Linked DNA regions of Homo sapiens: regions 1 and 2 are each linked to region 3. Evidence: promoter capture Hi-C in human tissues and cell types (Jung and others, 2019). All regions are on one chromosome and are shown on one strand. Each heading gives the region's core, a stretch centred on a gene start or on the middle of the fragment in contact. The rest is flanking DNA. Distances are from core to core; before and after follow the strand shown. Region 1 overlaps KNTC1 (kinetochore associated 1). Region 2 overlaps RSRC2 (arginine and serine rich coiled-coil 2). Region 3 holds the start of HCAR1 (hydroxycarboxylic acid receptor 1).

Region 1 (4,026 bases), core at 386-2,885, 140 kb before region 3:
TTCTGTCACCCAGGCTGGAGTGCAGTGGCATTATCATGGCTCACTGCAGCCTTGACCTCTAGGGCCTAAGTGATCCTCCCAGCTTAGCCTCCTGAGTAGCTGGGACTACAGGCATGCACCACCATGCCCAGCTAATTGTTTTGTATTTTTTTGTAGAGACAAGGTTTCCATGTTGGCCAAGCTGGTCTCAAACTCCTGACCTCAAGTGATCCACCCGCCTCAGCCTCCCACAGTGCTGGGATTATAGGCATGAGCCAAAACCCTGTTTTCTTTACCAAAAATATAAGACATTTTATTTGCCAACAGTTGACTTATCAGAAAGGTAATCAGTACAGAAATGCTATATGTTTTGAAGCTTAATTCTTCTGCAGTAATGGAACTGGTGTTCTGTTGACATTAACAATCAAACTTTTCAGATGAAGAGGCAATGGTTAGGATGACTAAGAGGAGTTTCGGACCCATGTACACCTCAAATCTCAGAATGATGGCTGGGTTGGGTAGTGTGAGGTTGGAGGAGCTATAGACAAATGTTTCTTTTTGAAAAAGGATACTAAGAAGGCAAGTCATGATGTTGCCCTTACTCTGATACATTTCAGTGTAGAGGGTTTTTTTGCTTTGTTTTTTTCTTTTTATTTCTAGATTTCTTTTCAACCAGTTTTCAGGCAACATTTTCTCACCAAGAAAGACCTCATTAAAGCTCTTGTGGAGAATATAGATATGGACACAAGCCTCATTTTGGAATATTGCAGGTAATTCTTTAAACATTAACGGTATTTTTGCTGTTAACAAACTGGTAATTCTTTTGCAAGAACACAGTAATAACGATGATTATTTTATGAGGTCCATAGACCACTATTTTCTTTTGCTCATTCCCAAACTGAGTAAATATGAAATCAGATTAGAGTCTCTTATGATACCACCATTTAAATTCACCATTTAGTGTTTCCCAAACTTGTCTCCTGATAAGCACTGCTTAGGGCACTTGATTTCAAATGCAGGTTTCTGGGCCTCTCTGGCAGTTCTGACTCAGTGGGTCTGGACCAAGGCCTAGAAATCGCTGGTCTCTAATAGGAGCTCAGGTGATTCCTATGATCAGAAAAGTTGGAGAATATTCTTCTGAGTAATAAACTTCTAAATCAGGTTAACTAGGGAGCAAAGTAATCTTAAAAATTAATGAAAAGTATGATTTAGGGAGAATTTCTAATTTCCTATTAAAAATGTTTATAAAAGAATTTTTATTTTTATTTAACTTCTTTCTTTATTTGAGACGGAGTCTCCCTCTGTCACCCAGGCTGGAGTGCAGTGGCGTAATCTCAGCTCACCGCAGCCTCCACCTTCAAGCCATTCTCTGGCCTCAACCTCCCAAGTAGCTGGAATTACAGGCATGCACCACCACGCCTGGCTAATTTTTATATTTTTAATAGAGATGGGGTTTCACCATGTTGGCCAGGCTGGTCCCGAACTCCTGACCTCAAGTGATTCACCCGCCTCGGCCTCCCAAAGTACTGGGATTATAGGCGTGAGCCACTGCGCCTGAACAAGAATTTTTAGAACTAAGATAAAATGTGTTATTTATAGATTCCGCTGACTTTGATAAGTAGGGATAAATGATTTGTAATTTATATCTCAGATGTTTCTGTCTAGTAAATACAAGGACTCGTTTTCTGGTTTCAGAATGCTTTCAGATCTGTCACCTCATTTAATTTTTATAGTTCTTATTGCATATGTTGCCAGTTGATATATGAGAAAACAACATAGTATGTGACCTGCTCAAGGTCAAATTATTAATGACTGCTTCTAAAATATTATGGGTGCTATAACCTCCATCTGATTTGTAACAGATTAATGGAATCTGAGTTATTGAGAATGAAACTGCTTGGTGCATTTCCTGCACTGGGCAGGCATCTAGTTCTTTGTCTCTGTGGATAGTGGGGAAAGACCGTGGCTGTCACCATCTAGTACCTGTAAGTCAAGGACTATAGGCTGCGCATAGCTCGAAGGAGCACTGACTTAAAAGAGTAGTTTGAAATAACAAAACTATGTCATTCTTCAGTTTAGAGTGTTATAAATCCAGAATAGGGTATGCACACTCTTATCTTTTTTATTAATTTGAACTACTGCTAGATTCTTCTGTGATGTTTTATGGTGCAGGACACTTTTTTGAAATTTAAATAGCTATAATGTCAAGTTCATTTCATAATTATTCTACTTACGTGGCATTGATGATTTGTATTCATATGATAGTGACACTTCTGCCTCAGGCAGTGTATCTGAATAAATTTAGATAAACTTTAGAATATCAGAGAGTGACTTGAAAATGGTGGTACTTAAGCCTTTTATTGATATTTTAGTTATGCTGTATAGCAAATTAAACTATCACTGTGTTATTAATAGGGTCTAAAAAGGCATTTCAGTTGTCATTTTGTCTATAGTAACCAGATTCTTTTTTTTTTTTTTTTTTTTTGAGACGGAGTCTCGCTCTGTCACCCAGCCTGAAGTGCAGTGGTGCAATCTTGTCTCACTGCAACCTCCACCTCCTGGGCTCAAGCGATTCTCCTGCCTCAGCCTCTTGAGTAGTTGGGATTACAGGCGCATGCCACCATGCCGGGTTAATTATTTGTATTTTAGTAGAGACCGGGTTTCACCATGTTACCTAGGCTGGTCTTGAACTCCTGAGCTCAGGCAATCCACCCGTCTCGACCTCCCAAAGTGCTAGGATTACAGGCGTGAGCCACCATGCCTGGCCTAATTTTTGTATTTTTGGTAGAGATGGGGTTTCACCATATTGGTCAGGCTGGTCTCCAACTCCTGACCTCGTGATCCACCTGCCTCGGCCTCCCAAAGTGCTGGGATTACAGGCGTGAATCACGTGCCCAGCCTGATTTTTTTTATCTTTAAAAAAAAAAAACAAAACAGCTTTTTGGCCAGGTATGGTGGCTAACGCCTATAATCCCAACACTTTGAGGGGCCAAGGCAGGAGGATCGCTTGAGGCCAGGAGTTGGAGACCAGCCTTGGTGACATAGTGAGAGCCCCATCTCTACAAAGGTAAAAAAATTCACTGAAGTGTTGTGGCGCATGCTTGTAGTTCCAGCTACTTGAGAGGTTGAGGTGGGAGGATTACTTGAGCCCAGGAGGTTGAGACTGCAGTGAGCCTTGATCATGCCGCTGCACTTTAGCCTGGGGAACAGAATGAGACCCTGTCTCAAAGAAACAAAAAAAAATCCAATTTTTGTTTTGTTGATCCTTGGTATTGTTTTTGTTTCAATTTCATTTATTTCTGCTCTGATCTTTATTCTTTTCTTTTACTAATTTTGTTTGGTTTGCTCTTCCTTTTCTACTTCTTTAAGATGTATTGTTAGGTTGTTTATGAATTTTTTCTACTTTTTTGATGTGTAGGCACTTATAGATATAAACTGTTTTCAGCTTTTAATCATTACAAAGAGTTGCTGCAGAAGACATCCTTACTAACATGTATATTTTTCTTCTTAGGTGAAATTTGTAAATGTTGCATTTTTATACTAAAGAGCATAAATATTTTCAATTTTATTACAGATTTCTCTCCAATATTCTAACAGTTTACACACCCACCAGGAATAATACCTGATTTTTTTTTTTTTTTTTTTTTTTTTGAGATGGAGCCTTGCTCTGTTGCCCAAACTGGAGTGCAGTGGTGCGATCTTGGCTCACCGCAACCTCCACCTCCCGGGTTCAAGCAATTCTCCTGCCTCAGCTTCCCGAGTAGCTGGGACTACAGCCATGCGCCACCATGCCTGGCTAATTTTTGTATTTTTAGTAGAGATGGGGTTTCACTATGTTGGCCAGGCTGGTCTCAAACTCCTGACCTCGTGATCTGTTCACCTTGGCCTCCCAAAGTGCTGGGATTACAGGTGTGAGCCACTGCACCCGGCCTAATATCTGATTTTTAAAAGGCAATAATTAGCTTTGATGACAGGTAGTTTGTCTGATTTTGAGACTGGACAATGACAAGGTTAAATTTCAACAATGGAAGCATGTACCCAAGTGTT
Region 2 (3,560 bases), core at 841-3,340, 220 kb before region 3:
TTGAAGATGTGAAACCCAAACCCATTCCTCTTTGTGTGTGGGTTTGTGATCTTGCCATTTCATACTGAGCATCTAAATTTCGAAATACTTCTTCCTGCTGCTTCAGAGTCTTGTAACTTTCTTCATCAACTGAGCTACATCCAGCTTCATCTTCACTCTAAAAATCAGACATAAAACATTACAATGAATTCAGATGGAGATAAATATTCTCTCACTTGACACTATTTTTTATGTATTTTTTTTTTTTGAGATGGAGTCTTGCTCTGTTGTCCCGTCTGGAGTGCAGTGGTGCCATCTCGGCTCACTGCAACCTCTGCCTCCTGGGTTTAAGTAATTCTTATGCCTCAGCCTCCCAAATAGCTGGGATTAGAGGCACATGCCACCACGCCCAGCTAATTTTTGTATTTTCAGTAGAGACGGGGTTTCACCACATTGGTCAGGCTGGTCTCGAACTCCTGACCTCAGGGATCCCCCCTGCCGCCTGCCCCCCGGCCTCCCGAAGTGTTGGGATTACAGGTGTGAACTAGGCTGACACTATTAAATTATACTTTTGGCCGGGTGCAGTGTGGCTCACGCCTGTAATCCCAGCACTTTGGGAGGCTGAGACGGGTGGATCACCTGAGGTCAGGATTTCGAGACTAGCCTGGCCAACATGGTGAAACCCCGTCTATACTAAAAACAAAAAACAAACAAACAAAAATATACTTTTGGGATATGTATTTGATCTCAATAACTTAATTTCCATTCATTATTGAACACCTCCAAAGGACAAGGCAATGTTCTTTCTAGGTCTGGAATATAGCAGGGTGTAACAAAAGTTAACTTCAGTTTAGTAGGTTGGAAAAAACATAATATGTAGAAGATGTCAGGGTATAAATGCCACAGAGGAAAGTAAAGTAGAAAATGGGGATGGAGGCTGGGCGCAGTGGCTCAGAACTGTGATCCAGGGCTTTGAGAGGCCGAGGTGGAAGGACTGCTTGAGCCTCGAAGTTTAAGGCTGCAGTGAGGTATGACTGCACCACTGTACTCCAGCCCAAGTGACAGAGCAAGCAGAGCAAAACCCCGTCTCTCTCTCTCTCTCCAAGTGTGTGTGTAGGGAGGACAGTGGGTAGGGGAGATGGAAATGTTTCAGAATGGGATTGCTTGTTATTTCACAAAAGGTGGTGGGAAAGAACTCAAAAACGCTGACACCTGAGTAAAGACCAGAACTAAGAAAATGAGGGAAGAACAGTGCAGGAGGGCTAATAGCTAATACAAAGATCCCCTGGCACATGTGAAACTCACCTTAATACCCATCAATTTCCTAAATTTGACATTTTGGTCCTTGTTTCCAAAATTCAATTTTTCCCATATTTCAGCAGATTGGGATTTGTCCTGTTAACAAACACTGAACTTTAAAATATGTAAAATTTAAATATTTTTTAGGACATGAAATCTCTCAACAATGTCTAAATTAAAAAAAAAAACACCATGGATAGCATTCAATCAATGTAAGTTTAATTATTTCAAGACTTAAGAAACCACAAAGCAAAGAAATACAAGCAAGAGGTTGGCGCCGTGCTTCACTCCTATAATCCCAGCACTTTGGAAGGCCGAGGTGGGCAAATCACCTGAGGTCAGGGGATCGAGACTAGCCTGGATGACTAGGTGAAACCCCGTCTCTACTAAAAATACAAAAAACTAGCCTGGCATGGTGGTGGGCACCTGTAGACCCAGGAGGGTCTCAGGAGTCTGAGGCAGGAGAATTGCTTGAACCTGGGAGGCAGAGGTTGCAGTGAGCTGAGATCACACCACTGCATTCCAGCCTGGGTGACAAGAGCAAGACTCTGTCTCAAAAATAATAAAAATAAAATAAAAAAATGGATTATTTTCCTGTCATAGACCTTTTTCAACATGCAATTTTTGCGACTGCATGTCATTTGCATTTAATGTCATTTGTCATTGCAAATAATGTCAAAAAAAAAAAAGTACCTCATAATCTATGAAAAATTCTAAACCAAGTAGCCTCTTTTCCTTACTACTTCTATGGTAATATTAGTTTTCTTTGAAAGCTTGACTTCAATCAATTATGTTTTATTTTAGTATTAATAACTGGCAAATAAGACTATCATAGCTTATTATAAGTTTTTTGAGACAGGGTCTCACCCAGGCTGAAGTGCAGTGGCGTGATTTTTTTTTTTTTTTTCCAGATGGAGTTTCGCTGGAAACTCACTGCAACCTCCGCCTCCCAGGATCAAGTGATTCTCCTGTTTCAGCCTCCCAAGTAGCTGGGATTACAGGTGCCCACCACCATGCCTGGCTAAGTGGCATGATCTTGGCTCACTGTATGTAGGCTCTGCATCCCAGGCTCAAGCGATTCTCCTGCCTCAGCCTCCCAAGCACCTGGGATTACAGGTGTGTGCCACCACACCCAGCTGATTTTTATCTTCTTTTCAGTAGAGACAGGGTTTTGCCATGTTGGCCAGGCTGGTCTTGGACTCCTTACCTCAACTGATCCGCTCACTTGGCATCCCAAAGTGCTGGGATTAAAGGCATAAGCCACCCGCGTCTGGCCACCCCAGGTTCTTACAAAGTTAAGCCGAAAGTAATATTTTTCAACCCAAATTTGTTTTTCTAAGCAATTACTAATTAGGAATAAACGACAGAAAAGCAGAATAAGAGAACTTACCCCTTCTTTCTTGCCCTGCCAAAGCATTTTCCTTTTTTTCTCTTGTTCAGCAAATTTCATTGGATTAACAGCGGCTGGGTTATAGTAGCTAGGAACAGCTATTCCTGTCTCTGCCAAAGCTTTAGCTTGCAGGGCTGCCATCTGAGCTGCCATGGCTATCTGAGGTGTTACTTGTGTTCCTGATGCCAACAGGGCAGCAACATTGAGAACAGAACCTCCAGTAGCTGCAGCTGCTTGAAGAGAATACAAAAATGGATTTTAAAACGATTTTAAAACATAAACCTCCTGATTTACATTAACGAACGATTTATAAAAAGCTATGAATGTGCAAAAAGGCAGGATTTTCACCAAATCCAAGGAAATGACTGAGTATTAGCTCACAAGTTTTTAGCAAACATTTATTGTGTTCATCAACGGACATATTTCTACATAAACCCTTGATATATAAACCATTTATTGCAAGGCGCAGTGGCTCACGCCTGTAATCCCAGCACTTTGGGAGGCTGAGGTGGGCGGATCACCTGAGGTTGGGAGTTCGAGACCAGCCTGACCAACATGGAGAAACCCCGTCTCTACCAAAAATACAAAATTAGCCGGGCGTGGTGGTACATGCCCGTAATCTCAGCTACTCGGGAGGCTGACGCAGGAGAATCACTTGAACCCAAAAGGCGAAGGTTGCAGTGAGTCGAGATCATGCCACTGCACTCCAGCCTGGGCAACAAGAGCGAAACTCCGTATCAAAACAAAAAAAAAACCCATTTATTTACTTTGAGGATAGAGAATTCTGCAAATAGTAAGAAAGTATGATTTCAGTGGAGATGAACTATAGTGTTTCTAAGGTATAATTACAAAACAATAAAACCTTGTATTTTTTTAAATTTATGAAATGTTC
Region 3 (3,811 bases), core at 1,167-3,666:
GGACAAAATGTACAGATGTACAAAGAAATGTAAAGATGAAAATTGATAGATCAATAGATCCCAATCTAAAGAGCCTCATTCGGCCTGAAATAAAGCATTGATTGACTGAGCCCGGTTTCTGTTTTCTGAGATAAGGAATGATTTAAGGTCAGAGGATAGGAAATGCTGCTAACTGCCCCATAGCCCCTAAGAGAGTGAACATGCCCCATTCAAACACATATACCCATTTACTTAGCCATTTAAAATGACACAGGGGAGGCCAGGCACGGTGGCTCACGCCTGTGATCCCACCACTTTGGGAGGCCAAGGCAGGCGGATCACCTGAGGTCAGGAGCTCGAGACCAGCCTGGCCAACATGGCAAAACCCTGTCTCTACTAAAAATACAAAAATTAGCCGGGTGTGTTGGCTGGCGCCTCTAATCCCAGCTACTCGGGAGGCTGAGGCAGGAGAATTGCTTGAACCCGGGAGGCAGAGGTTGCAGTGAGCCGAGACTGTGCCACTGCACTCCAGCCTGGGACACAGAGTGAGACTCTGTCTCAAAACAAAAACAAACAACGAAAATTACACAAGGGCTGTGCAGTTCCTAGCCCCCCTCCCAACACACACATGCTCCACTCCATGCACATTCTGTCCCCTGCCATTGTGATCAGATAAGAAAATGCAGCCAACTCACTTCAATCAACTGGAACCTCCCCAAAAGGTATAGTTGTGTGAATTTCATTTCCGACAGAATGAGAAGGATGCAGTTCATGTGCGAGAAGCCGTCTTGCAATAAGAAAGGGGGGTGGCATTTTCAAAGCCCCCGACCCCTTAGCACGAGTTAATTCTAAGTCACCACTCTATCTTCCTCAGTGTTGTTGGTCTGCTTGTTCAGTGCCACTCAACAATGTGGGGATCCCATTGCCCATCAGACTGGCTTTGGAAACTATTTGCCACACTGATGCAACTCCTGCGACCGAGGTTCGAAATTGGCATCTCTTCCGGCCTTTGTGTTTTTGAGTGTCCTGGCTGCTTGGGTTTCAGACTGCAGATTTTGAGCTTGTTGTAGAATTTGGGAAAGGAGGGGCTTGAAAAATAATACACCAGGGGATCCAGCATGCTGTTCATGTAGGTGAAGCTGAGGGTTATGTGCAGGGCCCCATGGACAGAGGGATCGCAGGCACTCGAGGGCACCGTCCAGAGGAAATAGAGTCTAGCAGACACGCTGGGCAGGTAGCATGTGATGAACACAATTGCCACCACCATGATGAACCGGGTCGCCTTCTTCATCCGAGCCTGTCTGGCCAGCTGCTGCCTCCGCCTCAGGCTCCAAACAATCTTGAAGGAGCAAAATAAGATGATGCCGAGGGGCATAAAGAACTCCAGCTGGAACATGATGTCATGCCAGCCATTGGCCGACTCCATGATGAAGCTCTCACAGGAGACGGCCGTCTCTTGCACGCAGAGATGGTTCTCCAGCAAAAGATACACTGTTCCCAGGATGACCAGGGCCCACAGGGTGCAGACGATGCCAGCCGCCACCCGGGTGGAGATAGTGTTCACCGCGTGGTGGGGGTGGACCACTTTGAAATACCTGTCCGCAGCCACCACCGTAAGGAACACGATGCTCCCGGCCCTGTTCATGGCCAACGTGAAGAGCCCCACTCGGCAGGGAATGTCCCCAAAAGCCCAGTGTCTACGTCTGAGGTAATAGTCTGTCCGAAAAGGCAGGCAGATCATAAGGAGGAAATCAGCCACGGCCAAATTGAAAAGGTAAACAGTGCTGGGCTTCCAGGTCTTCATGTGGAAGCAGAAACCACACAGGGCGACCCCATTGCCTAGTGCGCCCAGCACAAAGGCCACAATGAGCAGCGGCGGCATCACCTGGGAGATGGTGTCCCCCTCGATGCGGCAGCACGACCCGTTGTACATGGCGGGGACAGAGCAAGTGTCCGGGTGCAGAGCAGCCCAGGGAGTCCCCACAATGGCACAGATGCTTATCTGAGCGTTAGCACTCACCCAGCTGCTGCGTGTCTGACTTCATCACCCAGGATGCGGGTCCTGTGTGTGTGGGTTGGATGCTGCCACAGCAGCGAGAAGAGAAACTTCAGCCAGGAAATGAGAGACCCAGGGAGGTCCTTTCTCTGGAGCCCGTCTCACAAGCCGCCTGCCTCTGGGAGAGGCCAAGCCTGGAGCCGGATGAAGCTTGGAAATGCATGCAATTTTGCAAAAGTGGTCATTTCTGAGAGGCGGTAGGGTGGGGGGGTCCGATGAGATTGATGCCGTAGAGGAGCGATTGGGTCCAGCGCCAGAGTAATTTTCATTTTCAGCTTCGCTGTTCCTCCTCGGACTCCGTGCTGGAGAGCACACAAAGCTGCCCAGAAGGCAAGAAGAAAGCTTGTTTGTCCTCCCTCCTGGTGGAGAAATCCAAACATTTCCTGGAGTGGTTCTGGGCTCCTGCCTTTGCTTTCCTCCCGTAACCTTTGCCTGACTGCCTTGTCCTCTCCCTCATCCCACGGGGCACTCCCATGCGGTGCCAGAGAGGGGAGGCTTTGCTCTGCAGCTCCTCCGGGCCATTTCCTGTGCCGAAAAATACCGCGCTCAAAAATTGGAGGAGTCTGCGGAGAGAAAAGTTCTAATCACGATACTTGATGGATGTTAGAAAAATTCTTTGACGGGAGTCACCTTTCCCCCGCTCTATTCCCACCTCCCTGCCCTTTACATCCTTCCGTGAACCAAAGTGGCCAGTTGCACAACCACCAAGACCATGAAATAGATCTGAAGCCCACTTCTCATATGTCTGTCTCCACAAAACGGCCTCTTTGGGAGCCGGTTTCCCCCTCTGCTGGGAAGCAGAGCCTAGAACTTTTACAAAGATTTGGCCCTGAGTTTCCATTGGCTGTTGAATGAGCCAAACACCATGAGATGTACGTTTTTAATTTCAATTATGTGCTGAGCCCATCAATTAAAACTGCCCCCTGGGGGCGGAAGAGGATTGGAGGAGTTGATTAAGGAGTCCATCTCTAAAGCAATCATGAGTAACATTAGACTGCACAAAAAATTGGAGTCTTTGCTAAAATTTCCTGTCCTTTGGCTTTAAGGATTATTAATCTGCCCTGTGCCTTTCAGCTTCCAGTTTAGAAAATGGGGTGGAGGCCGGGCGCGGTGGCTCACGCTTGTAATCCAAGCACTTTGGTAGGCCCAGGCGGGCGGATCACCAGGTCAGGAGATGGAGACCATCCTGGCTAACACGGTAAAACCCCGTCTCTACTAAAAATACAAAAAAATGAGCCAGGCGTGGTGGCGGGCGCCTGTAGTCCCAGCTACTCGGGAGGCTGAGGCAGGAGAATGGCGTGAACCCGGGAGGCAGAGCTTGCAGGGAGCCAAGATTGCGCCACTGCACTCCAGTCTGGGTGACAGAACCAGACTCCGTCTAAAACAAACAAACAAACAAACAAACAAAACAACAAGAAAAAGAAAAAGAAAAAAGAAAGAAAGAAGAAAATGGGGTGGAGGCCAGTCGCGGTGGCTCACATCTATAATCCCAGCACTTTGGGAGGCCGAGGCAGGTGGATGACTTGAGGTCAGGAGTACAAGACCAGCCTTGCCAACATGGTGAAACCCCATCTCTACTAAAAATATACAAAAATCAGTCAGGTGTTGTGGCATGTGTCTGTAATCCCAGTTACTCAGGAGGCTGAGGCAGGAGAATCACTTGAACCCGGGAGGTGGAGGTTGCAGTGAGCCGAGATCGTGCCAATGAACTCCAGCCTGGGTGACAGAAAGAAACTCTGTCTCAAAAAAAAAAAATGGGGCGGAAAAGAGGGGGTG

What was found. Contacts are between HindIII fragments. The study calls those that stand out against the background at their distance.
Region 1: a contact is called between a fragment that was not itself captured here and the fragment with the promoter of HCAR1 in region 3, in 4 of the 25 tissues and cell types used here (liver, lymphoblastoid cells, mesenchymal stem cells and 1 more).
Region 2: a fragment that was not itself captured here is called in contact with the fragment with the promoter of HCAR1 in region 3 in 3 of the 25 tissues and cell types used here (dorsolateral prefrontal cortex, lymphoblastoid cells and thymus).

What each region holds. Positions count from the first base shown.
Region 1 is chr12:122,593,637-122,597,662 of GRCh38, forward strand. It overlaps KNTC1 (kinetochore associated 1), which reads left to right. Exons shown (of 64, transcript NM_014708.6): 43 at 640-749. Among named protein-coding and RNA genes, the nearest start is that of KNTC1, 68 kb to the left of the region's middle. The HindIII fragment of the contact is 8,363 bases long and covers 1-4,026 here.
Region 2 is chr12:122,505,550-122,509,109 of GRCh38, forward strand. It overlaps RSRC2 (arginine and serine rich coiled-coil 2), which reads right to left. Exons shown (of 10, transcript NM_023012.6): 8 at 2,669-2,898; 9 at 1,285-1,374; 10 at 1-157. Among named protein-coding and RNA genes, the nearest start is that of ZCCHC8, 6.4 kb to the left of the region's middle. The HindIII fragment of the contact is 4,115 bases long and covers 34-3,560 here.
Region 3 is chr12:122,728,428-122,732,238 of GRCh38, forward strand. It overlaps HCAR1 (hydroxycarboxylic acid receptor 1), which reads right to left and starts at 2,417. Exons shown (of 1, transcript NM_032554.4): 1 at 1-2,417. The coding sequence starts at 1,912. The coding sequence ends at 872. RefSeq lists an enhancer at 1,179-1,846. The HindIII fragment of the contact is 12,382 bases long and covers 1-3,811 here.